Linked DNA regions of Homo sapiens: all the other regions are linked to region 1. Evidence: promoter capture Hi-C in 16 types of primary human blood cells and fetal thymus (Javierre and others, 2016). All regions are on one chromosome and are shown on one strand. Each heading gives the region's core, a stretch centred on a gene start or on the middle of the fragment in contact. The rest is flanking DNA. Distances are from core to core; before and after follow the strand shown.

Evidence for each region. Contacts are between HindIII fragments. The CHiCAGO score rates a contact against its expected background, and 5 or more counts as called.
Region 2: a fragment that was not itself captured here is called in contact with the fragment with the promoter of KCNJ4 in region 1 in 1 of 17 cell types (M1 macrophages); the score reaches 7.2 in M1 macrophages.
Region 3: a contact is called between a fragment that was not itself captured here and the fragment with the promoter of KCNJ4 in region 1, in 7 of 17 cell types (M1 macrophages, M0 macrophages, M2 macrophages and 4 more). The highest score is 10.2, in M1 macrophages.

What each region holds. Positions count from the first base shown.
Region 1 is chr22:38,452,633-38,456,968 of GRCh38, forward strand. It overlaps KCNJ4 (potassium inwardly rectifying channel subfamily J member 4), which reads right to left and starts at 2,567. Exons shown (of 2, transcript NM_152868.3): 1 at 2,348-2,567. RefSeq lists an enhancer at 1-463. The HindIII fragment of the contact is 17,538 bases long and covers 1-4,336 here.
Region 2 is chr22:38,617,155-38,621,490 of GRCh38, forward strand. It overlaps FAM227A (family with sequence similarity 227 member A), which reads right to left. Exons shown (of 17, transcript NM_001013647.2): 11 at 3,058-3,137. Among named protein-coding and RNA genes, the nearest start is that of FAM227A, 37 kb to the right of the region's middle. The HindIII fragment of the contact is 1,279 bases long and covers 1,732-3,010 here.
Region 3 is chr22:38,584,695-38,589,030 of GRCh38, forward strand. FAM227A (family with sequence similarity 227 member A) reads right to left here. Exons shown (of 17, transcript NM_001013647.2): 17 at 1-1,505. The coding sequence ends at 1,431. Among named protein-coding and RNA genes, the nearest start is that of DMC1, 17 kb to the left of the region's middle. RefSeq lists a silencer at 917-1,117. The HindIII fragment of the contact is 1,879 bases long and covers 863-2,741 here.

The sequences.
Region 1 (4,336 bases), core at 1,317-3,816:
TGAGCCAAATTTGGCATCCTAGGGGGAGAGGCATGAAAAGTGGAGATGTGGAGGAGCAGAGAGGAGCCTGGGGTGGTGCAGGAGGAGCCCCCTGCCCTACAGCCCCGAGGTGCCTCCCCTCCCTCCCCTCAGGGCCCCCATCTCTTCCCCAGCTAGCCTGGCCCTGGGGCCTCCCCTCCTCACTCTGAGGGGCCAGCCTGGCTTCTCCCCGGACCCCTTGAGCCCGGCACTGCCAGGCCTACCCGCCACCCCCACCCCACACTGCTCCAGCTCTGTTTCCCACCGCCGCTAGTTTCCTGGTTACCATGTTGCCGGTTGTCATGTCGCTTACATGTCCTCGTGACTCAGTGGTCCCCGCAGAGGGGCCCCCTCCTCCTCACACCCCCCTTAGCACTCGCCCCCGCCTCCCCCAGATCCACATTAAGAACCAGCCCGCCCTGTAAGCCTACACTGTTCCTCCTCCCCTTCCTTCTTATCCTAAGCTAAGACATCTTCTCACAGCATCTCCCAGAGCTACTTCATTCTCTCTTTCGCAAATGTCTACGAACCTACTATGCTCCAGGCTGGCGCACGCGGCTTTCACAGACCTGACACAGTCTGGAAACTGCTCAACACCCTGATGAAGTCAGTATCATCATACCTATTCTCCAGTTGAAGAAACTGAGGTTCAGAGAGGTCAAGCCACCCACCCAAGGTCACCCAGCAGAAACTCAACCAGCTCTGCCTGGTCACAGCCACTCCAGAGGATTTTCTGAGAGAAGAGCTTTCTTTTCAAGGATAACCCAAAGGGCCATGAGGAATTGTACCCCAGATTCCCCCTCTAATCCTGGACACTCCTCCTTCGTCAGCTATTTCCGCCATATTCCCACTGCCCCACGCCCACCTCCACCCACTAGCTGTTCATCTCTCTTAAGGTAAAGTGAGTCTTTACTCCCATCTCCCCAGTGCTTTCCCCAGCCTGTGAACAGCCCACTGCTCATTGAGCCCAGGGCCCGCCTTGGAGGTCACTGGGGCAGGGAGTGACGTCCCCATGCCACAGATGTGGAAGATGACGGTTGGGAGGAGAGTGACCAGCCCAGGGGGCTGCTCTCCCAGCCACCTGAGCTAATTTCTGGGAGGCTGAATGGAGGACATATGAGACCCACTGCCCAGTGTGGAACACCCCAGAAAGAGTCCCTCCTCCCAGTGAGAATGGAGTGGAATGTTCTAGGCTCAGCCCTTCCAACTCCAGTTGGGATATGGGTCAGTTCAGTGGCCAACAGTCTCTGTTCCCACCATGCTGCACCCATCTCTTACCCCAGCTGCCCTGGTCCACCTTTTGCTCCCCTCAGCACAGGCCAAGCCAGGGCCACAGTGAGGCTCTTGGGCCCCTAAAGTCCTGCTAACTGCCCCCAAAAGGCCTGAAGCCATGGAGGTCATGGGACTGGATGTGGGGGAGAACACACACACACACGGCTCCAACCCTTCTCTGGGCCTCCCTCCCTGAGTTCCCCACTTCCCCCAAACCTGCTGCTGAACATTCTACTGCTCTTGAGGCCCTGCTCTGTCAGCTGGCCAGGCTGCCCTGCCTCTAGCCCGCCGCTCCACCCCACCCAGCTTGCCACCTCCCAACTCCCTGCATCCTGTCCATCCTGAAGCAGGGACACTGGGGGCAGAAATGTGGGTAGGGGGCAGGGAGGCTGACACTGGTGGGGGGACATTTGGCAGGTTGCAGGGGAAGTTCTCCCTGCGGGAGGCTCATTGAGACCTCTCTTGCCTTGGGGTGCTCCCTACACACGGAGGAAAAAGCAGCCTCTGCCTCCCTCCCCAGCCTGTGTCTATCACTGTGAACGTGCAGTGCCTCCTCTACCAATCCCTGCCCCTGCGCCCTGGGGTCGTGTGGCGCCAAGTAGGTGCTCAAAACATGAGAAGTGAGATTTCGTTCTTCAGATCACAGGGCCATTTGCAACGAGGATGCAGCTGGGGAGGCGGAAAGGCGGCATCCCCCACCTTGCCACAAGTCACCTGCCTTGAAGCTCCCCGGCATGACAACTGGGGTGGGTGGAGGCAGGGAAAGGTCATGGCTGGGGCAGGAGGTCAAGACCCCTTCCACCCACCTCTCTCCCCCTTTCCAGGCCACAACCCAGACCGCGACGCTCCCAGACGGACAGACGGACAGAGCCCGCCCGTGGAGCCCGCCCGCTCCCGGGGAGTCACGGGACCGCGCGCGCGGCGCCGGGCAGCCGGGACCCGGCTCCGGATCAGGTGCGGAGCGGGCGGGGCCGGAGCGGCGGGCCCGGGACACACAGACACGCACGCGGCGGGACAAACTGACGGACAGCGCCCGGGGTGGGCGAGCGCGGCTTACCGCTGGGCGGAGGGTCCGACGAGAGTCCGGGAGGCGGCGAGCGGGCGCTACATCCCAAGGCGCGATCCGGCGGGCGGCGTCCCGGGCGCGGAAAGGGGAGTCCCGGCGCCCCCTGCCCGCGAACTCGGCCGGCCGGCCCGCGCTCCCCTCCCCGGCTGCCGCTCGGTCTGCGCGTGGGTCTTGGGGTCTCCGCGCGTCCCGGCCGTCCCGCGCCGCTCCCCGCGGGCCGCCCAACTTTCAGCGCTGCCCCGCGCCGCGCCCTCGGCGCCGCCTCGGCGTCAGCATCGTCGGGCCCGGCCGGGCTCACAGCGCGGGGGTCCGGGGGCCCGGGGCGCCCCGCCGCCCGCGCCCCCCACCCCCGCTGCAGGCGCCCTCCCCGCCGCCGTCCCCCGCTGCGCCCAGCTCCCTCGCTGTCACCCGCTCCTGCTCGCGCGCTCTGCCCCCGGCCCTGCGCTCCACTCCCGGCCCCGCTGCGCTCGGCCCCGGCCCCGCGACCCCTCGGCCTCCCGGCCTGGGGTCGCCCTCCCCGCCCCCGCCGGCCGGGCTCTGTCGCCACCTCCCCGACCGCTCTCGCGTCTCTCTCCTGCCGCCGGGGTCTCCGCCGCGCTCGCGTCCCGGTCCCTCTCCCGGCCTCCCTGCCTCCTGCGGCCCCGCTCGCCCTCTGCCCGCGGGGTCTCCGTCTCCGTCGCGGTCGCCCGCCGGCCTCCCCCCGCCTCCCTCTGCCCGCGCTGCCTCTCTCCCCTGCGCGTCTCTGTCCGTCTCCCTCGCGGCCCCTGTCCTTCTCTGTCTCTCCCCCTCCCACTCTCCGTGCGGCCCCCTCTGTCTCGGACCCCGGCCCCCGCCTTGGCCGCGTCCCCGGCTCGCCCGGGAGCCCGAGCTCCCGCCGCCCGCGGCGCGCCGAGAACTCCCAACTCGCGGCACGCCGCCCCGCTTTGCGAGACTTTCGCCCCTCCTCACACGTGACCCGCGCCCCACTGCGGAGGCCGCGCGCCCCCCAGCCCGGGAGCCCCGGCTGCCCGCGGGACCCCGCCCTGCCCGCCCCTCGGCCTAACCCGGCCTCAAGCCCCCTCCCGCGGGGCCCGCGGCGCGGAGCAGGGGCTGGGGCGGGGGGCTGCTGGCCCCGCTCCTGCCCTGGATCCTGCCCGGGTTTTCCTCCTCGCCCCAGGAGCGCTCCTCCCAGAACCCGTTCCTGGATCCGCTCCCGGGTTTTGTGCCCCCCCCCCAAAAGGGGGCAGGTGGAGAGGGTTCCTCCGAGCCGGGAAGGGGGGTGGGTGGGAGCTGGTCCCTCTGGGGTCCCACGGAGTCCGCCCCTCTCCTTAGCGGTCCTCGTACTCTCCCAAAGTACCGCCGGTCAAGGACCCGAAGCACCTCACTCTGGGAGTCTGAGGGGGCCCTATTGGAGGGACCCTCGCGATCACTCAGTCACCACTGCCCCATTTTACAGATGGCGAGACTGGGTACCAGAGAGGGTCAGAAACTCGGCCAAGGTCACCCAGAGATGACAAAGCCAGGCCAAACCCTAGTCTCTTATTCTCTGTCGCTCTCCATTACCCCAAGCTGTCAGGCCTGGGCCCCACACTCTGGGGTGTCAGGGAACCCCCAGCACCCACAGCACCTGTCTAGCCAGCTACATCCTGACCATCCTGCCACGTCACTCTAGCCCTCCGAGGAGACAGGAGGGAAAGTGCTCCTCCTTCCAGGGTGGTAGGACGAGAGAACACCTGCAGTTAGACAGCCAGCAAAACTTCCCTGGGAGTCTGGCCATCACCGACTAGCCCCATTACAGAGAGGGAGAGACCGAGGCACCCCAAAGCCAGGTGGAGAACTGATGAAATCTGAAATCCCCTCTGGCTCTCCTGAGCCTCGAGGATGTCAGCATAAGAACAGCAACACACAAACCACCACAAGTGTTTCCCTTCCTCGTGGGCTCTCCCTACTCAAAAGGATTCAGTCCCAACTCCTCAGTGTGGTATAGTCAGGCCCCACCTT
Region 2 (4,336 bases), core at 1,121-3,620, 160 kb after region 1:
CCGCACAGTCTTCAGAATGTCTGCAAGAAGGCACCATGGTTGTTGTATCTATTTTATACCCATAGAAACAAAGTCTTAGGGAAGTCAAATAACTTGCCTAAGGCCACACAGATGGAATCTGAACCTGTGAGAACAGACTTTTTTTTTTTTTTTTTTTTTGAGACAGAGTCTTGCTCCGTCACCAAGGCTGGAGTGCAGCGGCACGATCTCAGCTCACAGCAACCTCCGCCTCCCGGGTTAAAGCAAATCTCTTGCCTCAGTCTCCCGAGTAGCTGGGACTACAGGTGTGTGCCACCACACCCAGCTAATTTTTTGTATTTTTAGTAGAGATGGGGTTTCACCGTGTTAGCTAAGATGGTCTCGATCTCCTGACCTTGTAATCCGCCTGCCTTGGACTCCCAAAGTGCTGGGATTACAGGCGTGAGCCTCCACACCCGGCCGGAGGAGGCTGTCTTAATGAATTAAGCCTCCAATGCCATTTGTTAAGGAAGCATGTCATTAGAAATGGGGCATTCAGGTACTAGAAGTGGGAATGTTGTCCTAGGGTTTAAAGATTAGCGGGGAGGCTGGGCCTGGTGGCTCACCTATAATTGAAGCACTTCAGGAGGCTAAAGTAGGAGGATTGCTTGAGCTAGGAGTTCAAGACCAGCCTGGGCAACATAGCAAGACTTCTCTATTAAAAATTCATGGTGACATGTTCCAGCTACTCAGGAGGTTGAGGCAGTAGGATTACTTGAATCCAGGAGGACGCCACAGCACTCTGGCCTGGGCAACAGAGTGAGACCCTGTCTCTAAAAGAATAAACCAATTAAAAAAAAGATTAGCAGGGGAAACAGCCATGATCAGAGTAATAACCAAATAATTACATGAGTGCTCTGAAGGAAAGGGACATTGGCCTGTATAATAAGGAACATCATCCAGCCCAGAGGGGCAGAAAGCTGACCCTGAGGATGAGAGTGAAGGGGGTTAGAATCTGCCATCCCAAAATAGGCCACTTTGCATAGGAATTATTTTGAGCTGAAGGCAATTGAAAAACAGCAGATGCAGGAAATCTCTTTACAATTCCAGTTTCCATCTAAAAGCAGAGCATAAATTTTCCTTTGTGAAGGTGTCCCCACTTCCCATCTCCAGTACCAGGAAGAAGAGACAACTCATCACTGGAGATGGCACCCCTTGAATCTGCATATAGAAATCTTATTGAAAGAATCCTTATCTTCCATTAGTTTCTCCCATATATTTACCTTCCCACAATTTACCATCCCCAGAAGCCTAAACCTCTTTTCCTTTGTCTTGTCACATCTCCACAATTAATTGCTCTTTGTTAGGGTGGTATGTGAACTATCAGACCTAGCCACTTCCTTGAGGTTTTCGCTTTCTTCCAATGAAGTCCTGTGTCATGTAAAAATACTAACATCAAATAAAATTTGAATGCCTTTCTCCTGTTAAACTGTCTATCTTTTGTCAGTTTAACTTGTAGGGCTCCATACACTTTGCCTCAGAGGGTAGATAAAAGGTTTTTTTCCCTCCCTACAAGAATCTGAACTGAGATGGAAGGATGACTATATATCTCCTAGACCAGGGGTTAGCAAACTTTTTCTGCAAAAAGCCAGATGATAAATATTCGGCTTTGCAGGTCCTAAAGTCTCTATCGCAAGTACTCAACTCTGCTGTTTCAGTGTGAAGGTAGTTGTAGACAATAGTAAATGAATGGCCATGGCTGTGTGCCAATAAAGCTTTATTTTCAAAAACAGGCAGTGAAAGGTCTGATTCATAGTTTGCTAAACCCTGCCCTGGGATTTTTTTTTCCAGCTCTTCAGAAAAAAAAAAAAAAAAGCCTTTATTTGTGGCATTTGGTTAACTGCATGCTATCAATGTCTCTGGACTTGGGGGTTGGGAGGAAATGCTGACAGTGACAATGGCAATGGTGATAGGAGCTTACCTGGGACAAGAAGAACAGGAGGTACAGAGGCCACATACAGAAAGGGAGTGTGGTATACAAGGAAATAAAAGAAGTCCCCTGAGGCAGGACCCCTGAGAGCCCAGGAGGTTGGAGAAGGGGTTGAGCCAGATGAGCAAGGCTGTGCAAGTCAGTCTACTAAAGGCCAGAGGAAGCATTCTGGGGTGTGGAGGGTGTCATTTTATTGGCTAGAAGTAGGATCTTATTTATTTATTTATTTATTTATTTTTGAGACAGAGTCTTGCCCTGTTACCCAGGCTGCAGTGCAGTGGTGTGATCTCAGCTCTCTGCAACCTCTGCCTCCCGGGTTCAAGCAATTCTTGTGCCTCAGCCTCCTGAGTAGCTGGGACTACAGGTGCATGGCACCAAGCCTGGCTAATTTTTGTATTTTTAGTAGAGACGAGGTTTCACCATGTGGACCAGACTGGTCTTGGACTCCTGGTCTCAAGTGATCTGCCTGCCTTGGGCTCCCAAAGTATTGGGATTATAGGCGTGAGTCACTGTGCCTGGCCTGGAAGTAGGGTTTTTAGGGTCGGGGGATAGGATAGGGTCAGGTGGTGATGGGATGATGTACTTAGCTTTGCACTTTGAAAAGATGGCCCTAGAAGTATCTGAGAACCTGAGGGAGACCAGTTAGGTGCCTACTGCAGTAGTGATGGGAGCTCAAACTAGGGTGGTGGGAGTGGAAAAGTGAGAAACAGGTGGTTCTGGGAGGTACATCAGAAGGAACATCAATAGGGCAGAGGAGAAAGTACGTATCAGGGATGACTGCTAGGTTTCAGGTTTGCCATGAGGATTAGTGGAGAAAAAAAAATAAGTAAAAGCATCTTGCACTGCAGCCTACACTGAAAACCTGGTTCCTTCCCTCTCTCTTCTCAATCGCTGCATTTCTGTGAATGCCCCTTAGTATGCCACTTAGCCACTTACCCATGGGAGACCTGGAGGCCTCCCAGGGCTCCTCACTTAGAAGATGGAGTGGACCTGGGCAAGGGGTACAGAGATGTGCAACTAACCGGAGGCCACTGATGCTCCAGAAGAACCGAGGGTTCCTGAAGCTTATGGGACTCCAAAGGGGTCCTGGTCCGTGCCTCCCCACTTACCTGAGGGTGGTAGAATTTCCTGCTCTGGGCTGGCTTCTGGGAGAAGGCTCTCTTACCAGCAAACAAAGAAAACTCTCTCCCTATAGAAGGGGAAAAGCTGTTATTAATTCCTCTTGTCATGGGACAATGAAGATTGTAGCCCAGGAGCTTGAGACAGCCTCCTTTCTGGAGACAGTGACACCCACCAGATCTAGGGTCTCTCTGTTGACTCCACCTGCTGGGCAAGTTACCTAACCCTGGTCCTGTTAGACTGTGAACACTATCTCCCTCTAGGGTGAATGCACCAATTAAAGGAAATAATGTATGCACAGGGCCGGCGCGGTGGCTCACGCCTGTAATCCCAGCACTTTGGGAGGCCGAGGCGGGCGGATCACGAGGTCAGGAGATCGAGACCATCCTGGCTAACACGGTGAAACCCTGTCTCTACTAAAAAAAAAAATACAAAAAATCAGCCGGGCATGGTGGCGCGCGCCTGTAGTCCCAGCTACTCGGGAGGCTGAGGCAGGAGAATAGTGTGATCCTGGGAGGTGGAGCTTGCAGTGAGCCGAGATTGCGTCACTGCACTCCAGCCTGGGTGACATAATGAGACTCCGTCTCAAGAAAAAAAAGAAAAAAAAAGTATGCACAGCTCTGTGCATAGGGCAGACACTCAACCCACAGGAAAAAAAGGACTGGTTTCAGAAGAAAAACCAATTCAGAGCTCTGCAAAATTAAAATGCTTAAATGCTTAAGAAACAATCTATCAAACTCATAGCTGTTAAATTTAATATTCATTAAAATGTCATTAAACTCAAGCAATTTATGGGTTAGGTTTTTCTTCACTTTGAAAAAACTCCCTGAGTCGGCCGGGCATGGTGGCTCACGCCTATAATCCCAGCACTTTGGGAGGCCAAGGTGGGTGGATTGCTTGAGCTCAGGAGTTTGAGACCAGCCTGGGCAACATGGTGAAACCCTGTCTCACCCTGTATTTTTGTACTAAAAATACAAAAATTAGCTGGTGTGGTGGAGCATGCCTGTAATCCCAGCTACTTGGGAGGCTGAGGCTCAAGAATCGCTTGAACCTGGAAGGCAGAGGTTGCTGTGAGCCGAGATCACGCCACTGCACTCCAGCCTGGGTGACACAGAAAGACTCTGTCTCAAAAAAAAAAAAAAGAAAGAAAAGAAAAGAAAACAAGAAAAAAAAAAAAACTCCCTGAGTGTGCATGATGACTACAGGGAAATCGTATCTATGAAGGGATCAGGAAATGGAAATGCTTAGAGAGCTAACAGGTAAAAGTGT
Region 3 (4,336 bases), core at 552-3,051, 130 kb after region 1:
GAATTTGAGGTTGCAGTGAGCTATGACTGCGCCACTGCATTCCAGCCTGGACAACAGACTGAGAGTCTGCCTCTAAAAAATTTAATTTAGTTAAAATTAATTAAAAAAAATTTTTTTTTGAGACAGAGTTTCGCTCTTGTTGCCCAGGCTGGAGTGCAATAGCATGGTCTTGGCTCACTGCAACCTCCGCCACCTGGGTTCCAACGATTCTTCTGCCTCAGCCTCCCGAGTAGCTGGGATTACAGGTGCCCGCCACAACATCCAGCTAATTTTTGTATTTTTAGTAGAGATGGGGTTTCACCATGTTGGCCAGGATGGTCTCGAACTCCTGACCTCGTGATCTGCCCACTTCAGCCTCCCAAAGTGCTGGGATTACAGGTGTGAGCCACCACGCCTGGCCTAATTTAAAATTTTTTAATTAAAAAAATTAATTTACATTTAAATCCTGACTTTTGCTATGGTAGGAATGAACTTTACTATTCCTTGTCTCATGAACTGGGAGTGACTAAATGTGTCCCTAGTTGCAGTATTATTTTTTGTTTTCTTATTTCTATTTTAGATTAAATCAGACAACATGTGCATGCTTTACCTATAAAGTTTCTCTCAATTCTTGGACAAAGATTCACTCAAATGAGCTGGAAGGTGAGAGGTTAAGAAGGCAGAAGCCTGGGAGTCACACAGAAACACATTACAGATGTCATGTCCCTGGGCTGAGTTTAGAAAAGACAAGATGTTTGCCAGGCAGAAAGAGGGCATATTGGAAATAGGCTGGCAATCCCAGTGGTTAGAGGAGCAGGAGGCAAAGGTTCAGAGGCAGCATAATAGAAGCGCCTATCAAATTATCAAATTAATAGTTCCACAAAGCTTGTTACAAAAAATTGCACTCCTCTAGGCCCATTTTCCTTTTCCCTCACAACACTTTTCTCTTTTTCCTCTGTCCAATACTTACAGCATTTAATGTGTTGATACATCTGTCTTCCCTCTACCAGATGGTGACTCCCTTGAGAACAGGGACTGTGTCTTATCTACTGTTAATTACCCAGTGTCTACAGCAGAGAACTTCGGAAACCTTTCTAAACCTGGGCTTGCTGCTGCGTAAAATGCAGTGGATAATCCCTACTTCATACGGCTGGTATGAAAGTTTTACCTTTGTATGAGGTCATATTTGTAACATACTTACCAGCATGCACGTAATAAAATACTGAAAGAGTAAATCTATGAATAAATGTAGTGACCCAAGCACCAACTCTCTACTCCTGCTTTTCACTCAGCCTAGGAAAAACTACAACGGAATCCTTCCCCTATGGAGAAATCATGATTCCTATTTCTGTCTTTGGCCACAATTTTCTTATTTTCTTGTTCCACTCCACCTCGTAGCAGAAATATCACGGATTCTGTAGGCGCTTCCTGGTTCTAGGTTGTGGAGCTCCTCAGGGCTTGGAAGTGAGTGGAAAGAAATGTTCAACTTCTGTTTCTCTTCTCTTTCCCTCTCCTCCTTTCCCCTCCTGTGGGGGAAACAAACGAACAAAAACAAAAATTAATTTAAAAAATGTAATTTCTTCAAAGACTTTGCACGTGAGCAGTGGCGTGGCCAGTGGTGATCCTTGTGTGCATGGAATATTGAGGGCGTGCTCCTGCCTCCAGAGAAAGTGGTCGAGCAGGACAGCTGGCATCCACGGCTTCCACATCCCCAGTGCCTCCATCCTTCATCTTTCACCAGTACTGACAGGAACACTGCTGTGTCGGATCTGAACTGGGCCCCAAAAACCTCTAGGTAGCAGGCAGGTACTACTCCATTGGAGGTGACATCCCTCTGGTGACGCTGAAAACCTGGATTGTGTTTTCTAACTCTGTCTATCTGCTTCACACCTCCAGATGTGAATCTTCAGAATATTATTTGCTGGGCTATGGGATGGAGACTAGTCTCACAAGCCTAAAGGACTTCCTTTAATATTTCACGAAAGCATTACATTTATTTTTTTCTTTCTTTTTTGGGACGGAGTATCGCTCTGTTGCCAGGCTGGAGTGCAGTGGCGCGATCTCAGCTCACTGCAACCTCTGACTCCCGGGTTCAAGTGATTTTCCTGCCTCAGCTTCTCAAGTAGCTGGGATTATAGGCATGCACCACCATGCCCAGCTAATTTGTTTTTTGTATTTTTTTTTTTAGTAGAGACAGGGTTTCACTATGTTGACCAAGATAGTCTCAATCTCCTGACCTCGTGATCCGCCTGCCTTGGCCTCCCAAAGTGCTGAAATTACAGGCATGAGCCACTGTGCCTGGCCTACACTTCTTCTATTTAGGTTCACTGTCCGTATTTGGAAAGAACATGCTACAACTTGAAGGAGAGATCACAAGATATACTAAAAAATATTTTGAAATAAAAACAAAAACATAACACAATAAAACTTATGGAGTGCAGCAAAAGCAGTGCTAAGAGGGAAATTTATAGCCATAAATGCCTATGTTTTAAAAACAAGAAACATCTCAAATCAATAACTTCACTTTATGACTTATGGGCCTAGCAAAAGAAGCACAAACTAAATCTGAAGCTGGTAGAAGGAAGGAGATTAAGATTAGAGCAGAGGACGTGAAATAGAGAATAGAAAAAATAGAAAGTCAATTGAAAGAAACAAAATGTTAGTTATCAACAAAATTAACAAACTTTGAGTTTGAATGACTACCAAGAAAAGGACACACATAGATGAAAGTGAGAACATGATTACCGACCTTACAGAAATAAAGCTTGTAAGAGAATACAAATGCCAATAAATTATATAGCCTATATGAAATGGAAAACTAGAAATACACAAATTACCAAAACTGACTCAAGAAAAAAATAAAAATTCTGCATAGACTTATAACAAATAAAACGATTGAATCAATAATCAAAAATCTCCCTTTGAACAAAGAAAAGTGAAAGACTACAGGGCTTCATTTGTGAATTCTACCAAACCATTAAGGAAGAATTAACACCAATTCTTCTCAAGCTCTTCCAAAAAATAGAAGAGGTAACAGTATTTCATAGCTCATTTTATGGGGCCAGCATTATACTGATACCAGAACTAGACAAAGAAATGACAAGAAAAGAAATTATAGACCACTCTTCCTTAAGAATACAAATGCAGAGATCTTCAACAAATACTAAAATATTAAAAGGATTATACACTAGGAACAAGTGGGATTTATCCCAGGTAGTTCCCCTCAGTGAAACATAAATCGATCAGTGTATAGAGCACAATAAAAGAATGAAGGGAAAACCCTACATAATTATCTCAAATGATGCAGAGAAAGCATTTGACAAGAACCAACAGCATTTCATGATAATAAACAATCAGAAAAATAGGAATAGGATGGAATTACTCCAACATGATTATGGACATTTATGATAAACCCACAGATAACAGCACACTCAATGGTTAAAGACTGAAAGCCTTTCCCTAGGACCAGGGACAGGACAAAATGCCTCCTTTCATGGCTGGTATTCCACTTTGTATCAGAAGCTCTAGACAGATAATTAGGCAAGAAATGAAAGGCATCCAAATTGGAAATGAAGAAGTAAAACTATCTTTATTTACAGATAGCATGATTCTATACGTTGAAAATGCCAACACAGCAAGACCCTGTCTCTACAAAGAAATTTTAGCCAGGCGCGGTGGCTCATGCCTGTAATCCCAGGACTTTGGGGGGCCGAGGTGGGTGGATCACCTGAGGTCAGGAGTTCGAGACCAGCCTGGCCAACATGGTGAAACCCCATCTCTACTAAAAATGCAAAAATTAGCCGGGCGTGGTGGTGCACACCTGTAGTCCCAGCTACTCAGGAGGCTGAGGCAGGAGAATCATTTGAACCCGGGAAGTGGAGGTTGCAGTGAGCCGAGATTGCACCACTGCACTCCAGCCTGGGTAACAGAGTGACTCTGTCTAAAAAAAAAAAAAAAAAAAAAAAAATGCTGGGCGCAGTGGCTCACGCCTGTAATCCTAGAACTTTGGGAGGCCGAGACGGGTGGATCACGAGGTCAGGAGTTCGAGACCATCCTGGCTAACAGTGAAACCCCGTCTCTACTAAAAATACAAAAAAAAAAAAAAATAGCCAGGTGTGGTAGCAGGTGCCTGTAGTCCCAGCTACGTGGGAAGCTGAGGCAGGAGAATGGCATGAAGCTGGGAGGCGGAGGTTGCAGTGAGCCAAGATCGCGCCACTGCACTCCAGCCTGGGCGATAGAGCAAGACTCCATCTCAAAAAAAAAAAAAAAAGAAAAAAAGAAGAAGAAGAAAGCTGTTATAGGTTTTGGGGAATATGTTCCCCAAAAGACATGTTAAGGTTGTAAACCCCAGTACCCG